Regions from separate parts of the Homo sapiens genome. Here all the other regions are linked to region 1. The links are contacts of gene promoters, found by promoter capture Hi-C in human tissues and cell types (Jung and others, 2019). All regions are on one chromosome and are shown on one strand. Each heading gives the region's core, a stretch centred on a gene start or on the middle of the fragment in contact. The rest is flanking DNA. Distances are from core to core; before and after follow the strand shown.

Evidence for each region. Contacts are between HindIII fragments. The study calls those that stand out against the background at their distance.
Region 2: a fragment that was not itself captured here is called in contact with the fragment with the promoter of GRIK1 in region 1 in 2 of the 25 tissues and cell types used here (adrenal gland and dorsolateral prefrontal cortex).
Region 3: a fragment that was not itself captured here is called in contact with the fragment with the promoter of GRIK1 in region 1 in 2 of the 25 tissues and cell types used here (mesendoderm cells and thymus).

Annotation. Positions count from the first base shown.
Region 1 is chr21:29,938,223-29,941,252 of GRCh38, forward strand. It overlaps GRIK1 (glutamate ionotropic receptor kainate type subunit 1), which reads right to left and starts at 1,774. Exons shown (of 18, transcript NM_001330994.2): 1 at 1,161-1,774. The coding sequence starts at 1,278. RefSeq lists an enhancer at 1,060-1,561. The HindIII fragment of the contact is 7,699 bases long and covers 1-3,030 here.
Region 2 is chr21:29,975,408-29,978,908 of GRCh38, forward strand. No RefSeq gene overlaps it. Among named protein-coding and RNA genes, the nearest start is that of GRIK1, 37 kb to the left of the region's middle. The HindIII fragment of the contact is 3,709 bases long and covers 352-3,501 here.
Region 3 is chr21:29,882,305-29,885,483 of GRCh38, forward strand. The region is part of intron 1 of GRIK1 (glutamate ionotropic receptor kainate type subunit 1); the gene reads right to left. Among named protein-coding and RNA genes, the nearest start is that of GRIK1, 56 kb to the right of the region's middle. The HindIII fragment of the contact is 6,023 bases long and covers 1-3,179 here.

The DNA.
Region 1 (3,030 bases), core at 524-3,023:
CATATTCTGTTAGTTCCTGGAAAGGGGGAGTTAGAAGTCCTCAGAGATCAGGGCTTCACTCTTGCGGTTGAAAGTGGAAGATGGGAGAAACTAAGAGACCCATGTGATGTCACAGCTTCTCCTGTGGCTCCCTCTGTGACCGTGACTCTAAGAAGCCCGATGGGTTGGGAAAGGAGGAGGGCAAATGAGATTCAGCGAACAATAACTGGGTTTAGTTTAAAAGGCGAAGAGCTGTGTCAACCCTCAAAGTTCAGAAATTGCCCTATGCAGCCACAGACCAAACCTTGGTGGTGGGTGCTATACACTTATGGCTGTCAGTCCACGCCCCTTCCACTGTCCTTGCGTTTTGTCATCTTTGGGCTGCCCACATTCAGCTTTCCGGTGTCTTTTTTATCTCATTCGAGATCAGAGCCCTGAATCTCCTAGGAAGCTACCTGGACTGGGAACTGGATCTTGCTCAGTGGCAGGCAAGCGGGCAAATTAGGGAGCAAGTGGGAAACTTAAGTGTCTGCTGATGTTGCTAACTGACCGTCCTTCTCACTCTTCGAATCTTCAGCTCGAAGTCAGATCTGAACTCTGCCCCAATCTAGTGGAACCCGTCAGAGTTGGCAGACTCCATGTGGAAGAATCCAACTTAGGCATAAAAACTTGGAGGCTCTGGGGTAACAGGCTCTAGGATATTCCCACATCCCTAGTGGTCCCTGTATTGTATTCTTGAGATTCGTGCATACTTGCCAGTGCCCAGAGCCCAGGTTGCCAGGCACCGGGACTGCGGATCTGGACTGCCAGACGCCCACCCAGGAGGCTGGGAGAGCTCATTTCTGCGCCCAACTCAAGTGGCTGCAGCGGCTCGCGATCCCTTGCCCAGAGTAGGGGTGCCGGTCCCTGCGAACCTGGATCCCCGCACTCTAGCCCGCGTTCCTGGAGCCCAGATTGAAAAACCCGCCAACTGTACCTCCCGGGGAAGGCCGGCACCCTCCAGGAGGGAAGCAGTGACGCGGCTCCCCCTTTTTTGTGTAGCCTCCCATGAGCACTGACCTCCACCTTCCCCAGCTCCGGCTCCTGCGCCGCCGCGCGCTGCCTCGCCCGGGACCCGCTACACCCGCGTTGGTGCGGCGACCGACCACGTCTCCCGAGCAGGCAGCCTGGGGCTCACTCACCGATCCTGAGTACTTGCGGGGCGGTCTGAGGGAGGATATAGCAGAGGAAATAGAGGAGTGCCCAGCTGGTGTCCCTGGTCCAGAGCCCGGGCTGGGCGAGGAGTGTGCCGTGCTCCATCTTCCTAGCTTCTTAATTCATGCCGAGATACAGCCGCTGCCGGACGCCCGAGAGATGCACCCAACTTGGGCCGGGTCCCCGCCTCATCCTCTCTGGATGCTCCGGTTCCAAGCACGCTGCGCGCTCCCCACGGAGCGAGCTCGAGGGAACCCGCGTGGGACCGCGGAGCTGGCTGGCAAGGCTGAGCTCTCTCGGGGCTCCTCAGTGCTGTCGCTAGCCCATCACGGCTCCTCCTCCTCCTCTTCCATGGGCCGCAGACCGCGGAGGATCAGCGCTCTCTGGCTCCCGGAGCCCAGAGACCAGCTGAGGAAAGTTGCTGCCCCGATCTGCAGGAACGTCTCCCTCATTCGTCCTTTGGTCAGATGCAAAAGTCGGGGGATAGGCACAGACAGAGGAGGGAAAAGGGGGAAAGAAGACTAACGAAGAAGGAGAGAGGGTACAGGGTGAGTTGGTGCAGGGGCTCTGAGCAAGCCTGATGAGCTCCAGCAGGTTAACTGGGAGCGGAGCCACGTTCCGGCTTCTCTGAATCTTTGCTTTCCTCCTCCCCTCGCTGGCCCCACCCTTTATTTACTGCCCGCCCCAACCCCACTGATCAAGATACTCGCGCGCGCGCGCGCACACACACACACAGACACACAGACACACACACAGACACACACACACACACACACGCTCTTTTTTCTCTCCCTCAACTTTGCGCTCTGCTGCTGGGAAGTCGATCGAGTGTTGCATTCTCAAGACAGATCAAATCTAAACTATTGGTCCGAGCAGAGAAAGCCTCTGCTGTCCGCTGTGAGTGGCAAGGAAGCCTTCTTGGTAATGTCCGTGTGCACCTGTTAGGGGGTCTTATAGACAGCCAGCTATGACTCGTCCCATCATTTAATGGAAAATCACCTCCAATATTTTGGAAAATACCGGGGCTCCTGTTTTGACTCTGACGAGGATGATGAACAGGGGAAGGGGGAGAGGAATGAGAAAGCTTCAGTACTCCAAGATTATAGTGGCTTCATTCCTATTTGGACCCAAGATAATCTCTTGCAAATTGCTTCCATTTACACATGCCACTGAGATAGAAGCAGCCTCCAGCGCCGCTACTTTTCTTCATTTCTTTTAACTGTCAGGTCTGAATACTGAAAGATAGGCTATTTTAGCAATGTAGGTTTGGAGACTGTTTCTCTGTAGAAGGACAAGGACACTTCCCTAGGGAAATCAGCATTTGATTATGTTGGATTAATTTCCTTCGAGTTTTGTGGGGAATGTTCTATATATATGTTTGCTAGGTCTATATTAACATCTCTTTTTTTTAACTGGTAAATAGATTTTGAAGAACTGACCAAATCCATATGAAAAGTATGTCCACAGTTGTTATATGAGCCTAGAGTGGGAAACAATTGCAAAAGGAATCTAATATATCTTAAAGTCCATTCGTGTATTAATTAATTAATTCATTCATTATTCAACAAATACCTACTGAGTATTTTGTTTGTGGTGTCAGACACTATACTTTTCACTAAAAACCCTATGGTGGGGAAAATGCATGTTCATTCTCCAAGGGAGGTTAGAACTCCACTGTGGAAAGCTAGTCAGTTCATATCTCAAGTAGTAGGCTTGGTTCTGGACACTTTGGGATGAGAGTTAACAAAGCAGAACATGTCTGCAGATAAGAAGAGGGACTGATAGGGATTTAGGAATGCATTTTTGCGTGGAAAGATTGAGGAAACCAAGAGGAATTAGGAGCACATGCTGGTTATC
Region 2 (3,501 bases), core at 956-3,455, 38 kb after region 1:
AGGAGTTCAAGACGAGCCTGGCCAACATGGTGAAACCCCGTCTCTATAAAAATACAAAAAAAAGTAAGCCAGGCATGACGGTGGGTGCCTGTAATCCCAGTAACTCTGGAGCCTGAGGCGGGAGAATCGCTTGATCCCGGGAGGCGGAAGTAGCAGTGAGCTGTGATCGTGCCATTGCACTCCAGCCTGGACGACTGATCAAGACTCCATCTCAAAAAAAAAAAAGTACTCCAAAACACTTGATAGATTTTTCTCCTAAGCTCTCAGAATAGGAATGACTTAACACAGGATAGAAATCTATTCAACAGATTCACACACATTTTTAGATGCGGTGACTTCACATAGGATGGAAACGGAAGTTTCCATGTGTAATATATAATGACTACCTAGAGATAAGCCTGGTTAAAACAACCTCTTTTGAGATTATAAACTTTTCTGATTTTGCTCATTTGCATAACAAGAATCTTGGCCAAAGTGGCTATGTAGGTTTCATCTAGTTCACATATCTGGCTATGATGGGAGTTCCTCCAGGCCAGTCAAACCCGGGGACACACATGGAATTCACAGTAACTAGTAAGCCACTTCTCTCTAGCTCAGTCGCAAAGTCTCTCACACTGAAGAATAACACACCACTGAAACTTCTCGCTGAGCTCCAGCAGCAGCCAATAAAAGTGTTCCTTTGCTCTTTGGTACAACTGAAGACATTTACATGGACATTTTTTCTTATTCTACCACTCCTTACTCTATTCCTATGTTTATCTCACAGCTGATACTTTTGGGGCTTTTCATTTATCATTTTCTAGTTGACTCCTAAGATAAACAAAGAGCTTACAACAATTCCTAGTACATTATAGGCATTCATTAAATGTTTGCTATGCTGCTGTTGCTGCTAATGATGGTCTTGCAAAATTTTTCATTTCAGAAGGTACCTAGTGTCACTTACTCAGCAACATATGGATTGCATCTTTAGGAATTATCCTTTCTGTTGCATTAGAAGAATCCTTACCAGTTAGAAGCCCCTGTTACCCATACATTATAATGTTATGGTTAAGAGATAAGTATAAACTATATTTAGGAGACATCTTTCCTAGTTATTAATGGTTTGAACTTGGACAAGTTGCTTAAACATTTTGCCTCAGTTTTCTCATTTTTAAGCATTTGACAATAACATATATTTTGTGGAGTTTTTCTGAAGATAAATCAAAATAATACAGGTAAAGTGTCCCTATATACATCTGAGTATCCAGAGACGAGGGATGGGTCATGCTTTACTCCTCATTGTGTCTCCGGTGACAAACATAAAAACAAAAGTCATTTATCCATCTAATGCACAACTCTTTTTGGAAGGTACAATGAGCAAAATGTTCTCTAAGTTTCCTTTTAGTCCTCTATTATACATTTTATTGCAAGTTGTGGAAATAAATTATTCACATTGGATTTACGACGACACATCTTTCAATTATTAGTTATTAAGACATGGTGGTAAAGAATAGCAGCTAATAAATATACAAGATATGATCTATTTTTAAAATCATTATTTTGCAATCCAAAATATTTGGCACATTCAAGAATCATCTATAAATGCTACCCATTTGGCAGAAGCTTTTTAGGGAGTAGAATAACATATGGCCACAAAACATTACTATAGAGATAATTTATCAATTACAAAGGGGTAAATACACTTTTTCTATGGAGAGACCCAGTGGTCACCACTTTAGTGAACGAAATTAGCATTATCAATAATAAGACAACATGACATTATGGGCCTTCCTATGTGACACAATAAGAAATACTGTTATGAAAGATCCTGGCACAAATGTTAAATCTGAAATTGATCGCAAGGTATACATAAGAAAAATCCTAAACAATGACTGGCTTAACCTTCAAGATAACAGAATCATAAGCAGCCACAAAAAAGGTAAAACAATATTTTAGATTAAAAGCAACTAAAGTAGCATAACCACTAAAGGCAATGCATGAGCACTGGTTAATAGATATAAAAAAATTGGGATGGACAATTAGGAATATTTAAATTGTCAACATTTTCATTTCAATTCTAAAAATAATTAATTTGACTACATTTCAAAACAAATATATATTTCAAATATTCTAACATATGACAATGATATTTTGCTTCTGTAGGGAATGATATATTTTGATAAGGAAGTATTCATATTCGTATGTATATATACACACACACACAAACCCACATATATGTAAAGAGAGAGAGACACAGAGAGAGATAAAGAGAAAAATAAAGCAAATGTGACAAACTGTTAATAGTTGGAGAGTCTTGGTGAATTGTAAATGGGTGTTCGTGGTAATATTTCAACTTAATAAAATGGGAGGAAAACTTAATACATTGGGAAGAAAAATACATGGAAGTGAATTGTCTAATTCAAAACACATAACTTAGTAATGGGTTCTCTGGACAACTTTTACAAAAAGGATTCTAGAATAATCCAGTTTGTTAACTTGATTTTCTGTCACATAGTTTTCCTTCTGAACCGGAGGCTCAGTCCCTCACACCCCTGCTGGCATACATGCTTTTAGCCTTCATCCTATGTTGAGTTAGTATGCATAGTGTATACTCAAAAAATGCTAAGTTAATTGATTTTAAAATTAGCTCTTTAAGCACTCAAAACAATTTCAAAGGACACTCTGCTGAAAAACAATTATCTAATGTACTTTATACTTAAATATTCATTCATTTTTGTATTCTACAATGTTGATATTGTCCAAATCTCTGCCAATCACTAGGAGAATATCAAGCTAAAAATTTACTAAATGATTTTTAAAAAGTATATTGCTTATTTGTCTCTTGAGTAGCATGTCAAAAGGGGACTTAAATTAACTCAGGGTATTTCATTAATCACTAGAGAAAAATGCCTAGGACTCATTTTATTGTCAACATTTTGATGATACAGAATTCTAGAAAATTCATCATCTTATTTATGTTTCAAAACTTATACGACATATTTAAAATATTAACATACTACAATGGTATTTTGCTCCTGTAGGAAACAATATATTTCAATACGGAAGTATTCACATTCATATATATATATATATATACACGTACACATATAAACACGCATATATGTAAAGAGAGACACAGACAGAGGGAAGTGGACTCCTCAAACACAATGCTTTAATATTTATCCTTAAGACTAGCATTGTTTTTGACATGACCCTATGATTAATCAAATGCTCGATAGAAGTAGACCACGTTGCTTTGAGTTTCATTAGCCTCACATCGATGTGTCCTAATAGGGAATAGTCAAGATGGTGTGTTGGCCTCTTTGTAGGGTGCATCCAATTTTAACATAACTTCCTGGTCTCCTATGTCAGATTATACCCAGGAAGGCCCAAGGAGGATCTGCCATCTTCAGTCCCCATTTTAATTAGTTCTTCAAAGGCCAGAGAATGTCTCACAGGCACATCTTGAGAAGATCATCAAGGGAATTTGTGACATTGTAATAACTATGCTTCAAAATACCA
Region 3 (3,179 bases), core at 333-2,832, 56 kb before region 1:
AAGAGTTTGGCCCATACTTAATGTATTTTTAAACGTTTTAACATTTACTAATATAGAACCTTCTATTGCCTATTTCCTTCTGGTTTATTCCCTTTCCTTCTGTCATTGAAGAAATGGTTCTAGTGGTAGAAATACTCCACGATTGAGAAGAATGTGGGAAGAAAGGAGGGCTGGTGGGTAAGAATTGCTCATGATGTCTCCCTCTGAATTCTGTGCTCTCACAATGACACTCCAATGTGTGGTTTGACGCCTGGAAGAAGCAGCTCATGATGGGGAAGAATCCAAAGCAATGTAGTTGGAATATCATGCGCAAAGAACTTACAAAGGGAAAAAGCTTATCAAATTCACAGAACCGAAATGAGGGTCCTTGGGAACAGAGAATTATCTCACATGCATATTCCCTGGCCTAGGTAAATAAGTGCTAGGCAAAAGTGCATGAGTAATTGAATGAGCCTGGAAAGTTTGTTTCTATTTCTCCACACATGAAATTCTTGTTTATCCTTTAAGTCTTAACTGAACATTGGCCTCCTCCATGAAGCATTCTCTATCTACCACGATCTATACAGAGCTCTCTTTTCCTTATTTATTTTTATACTAATAACCAGGGGCTGCAACTTGCTTTACTTTCTTGATGTCTAATTACTTTTTCTTTCCAACCAGCCCCCAAGGTCCTTGAAACCAGAAGTCCAGCTTTAACCTTAGTCATTACCTCCTTCAGGCTTTAACATAGTTCTGTGTTCATGGAATCGTGGCTTGTCTGTTGCTAATACCTGAGGGACTCAATCCAATACTAATTCAACAATGTCATGCTCATCTGGAAGCAGTATTTAATATATTTGGAAGGTAACTTAACCCATTTAGTGGTTTTCAGATATCGGGAAGTAGGAAAATGTATTTGTATATTCTACAAAATATTTCTAGTTATCTAACTTTCAGCAACCATTTAAATTTACTTTATAAACTCTTGTGGTTCTATGAAACAGTATTAGAACTGATAATAAGTGCAATAGAGGCTGGTGAGTCAAATAAAAATAATGGCTTCACATTTGACCTTTAGCAAGTAAAGAATTCTCAAGTATATAGATTTGCAATGGTTTTACTTCATTAAGTCACTCAGCGAGACTGACTATTGGTTGTTTCAGGAAAGAAAGTCATAACTAACAAGCAGAGAGTTCTTAATATCAGCCTCTGAGGTCCCCTGTTTGCCACAAAGCAAGTGGTGCACATTTTCCTTCCAAATAGAAAAAATAAAAATGAAATATAAAAGCTTATTAGACCTTCCAAATCAGGATCTTCTGTAGACACACTCAAGACACCCAGGAAGGCATCAGTGTTATCAGGTATCAGGTTATAAAGAAATCAGACTATAATCCTGTGACATTCTGAATGGGAATGGAAAGACTGGTTTACAATGATAGTTTAAAATTTAAAAATATTTATGTGTTTTTTCTCAAAGTCCACTTTCTTTTTTTTCTCATTGCAAGAAAATTAGAACAGACACATTTCAAAATCTCCCAGCACAGAATAGCTATATTCTGCAGTGAATACCAGTGAAACCACAGAATAATTAGAAAGAAAATACCTAAGAGAAAACCAATCAAAGAAAACCCGACAGGCTTCAACAGGTTTCCTTCAGGCCTGAGATATTGAAGTCCTTTTCCACTCTGACTCTTCCTAAAAAGAAGGGGGGGATGCTTTATGTAATCTATTGATAAGAAAGGAGGTAGACAGAAATCTTGACTCCCATGTGCTGCTCCATTTTATACAGGGAAACACATTGTCTACTGTTAAATAATTTTTCTTTGTAGTATGGTTCTGTTACCTGCCCATATCACTGTTCGATAAGCTGCTATGAGCAAACATATTATATTTAATGGAAGTTGAAAGAACAGGCAGAGGGTTAAGTTTTCCAACATGTATGGTTCACAAAGCCAGATGCCAAGATATGGTCTAATCTTCTAAATATATACATTTGTCCATTATAAATCCTTTTTCCAGAGTAATTTTTAAAACAAATCTCATTTTACTATCCTATCGTAAAATGTTTTTGAATTAACCAGAGTCTACTTACCATTTCTCTAAGTATGGTCAAGAGGAAGAACAGGTTGGTTGTATTTTTTTCCATATGAGGACTTTCGTCCCTCTACTCCCACCCCCGACTCTTTGTATTATGGACAGGGAAACAGAAAGGAAATTACTAAGTCAGGGAGAGAGTTACTTGATGGCCATGTTCATCTCTCAGTTTGCCATTTGATGACGTAAAACATAAGAAAACATGAAAGTGGGTGCCAATGTTTCTAACCTAACAGATAAAGTTTGTGGATTTCTGAGCTACATTGCATTACTAGTAATAACTGAAAACATAGATTATCAGCTATTGTGCTACATGCTTTACTTAAAGTAGTTATTATCTCCACCTTCAAGACGAGACAACGGAGATTTAGAAATTAAGTAACTTGACTAGTTAAAACTGACACTAAACCTCTTAATTTTAATCTCTCACTATAGCTACATGCATAAAGTTATGATTACTTAATTGCTGGAAGGGAATCTTCAACAGACATCCAGTGTTCACCCACAGAGCTATCCAGAAAAAGTTCCCAAATCACACAGATACTGGTTCACTTGGTGACGATGTTGCTCAAAACTGTTCCATAAAAGATTCTAATCCCAAATGAAACATTTCAATATTATTTTCATTATTGGAAAAATCTCCATATTTTAGGTCTCCTTGAGTAAATGAGAATGAGCTGCATTTTAAAAACTACTTTTTAATGGACACATTGTAATTATGCATATTTATTGAGCAAAAATGTGATAATGTGATGTTTCAATACATACATATATTGTATAATGATCAAATCAGGGTATTTATTGTGTTGACCGTGGATTTGCTTTCATGAATGTTCATATGTATGTCAGAGTTTCATGTCAGGGCAATGGACGTTGTATGGTTAAATAGTCTTCAACTTCTTCTTCTAAGCCTTTGCTAGATGGTTTTTAACTAAATATAGGCATATTAAAAGTTCTCTTCTCATACCACAACCCTGACCTAGCTGTAGTTGGTTTACAGTGGGACTCAGATGGATGGAATTATTTTTTCTTAACGTAAGAAAAATAAATTCCTTCCTAGAGATCTGCAAAAAAATCTTGTGATATAGAATTGGTGGGAGTGAAGG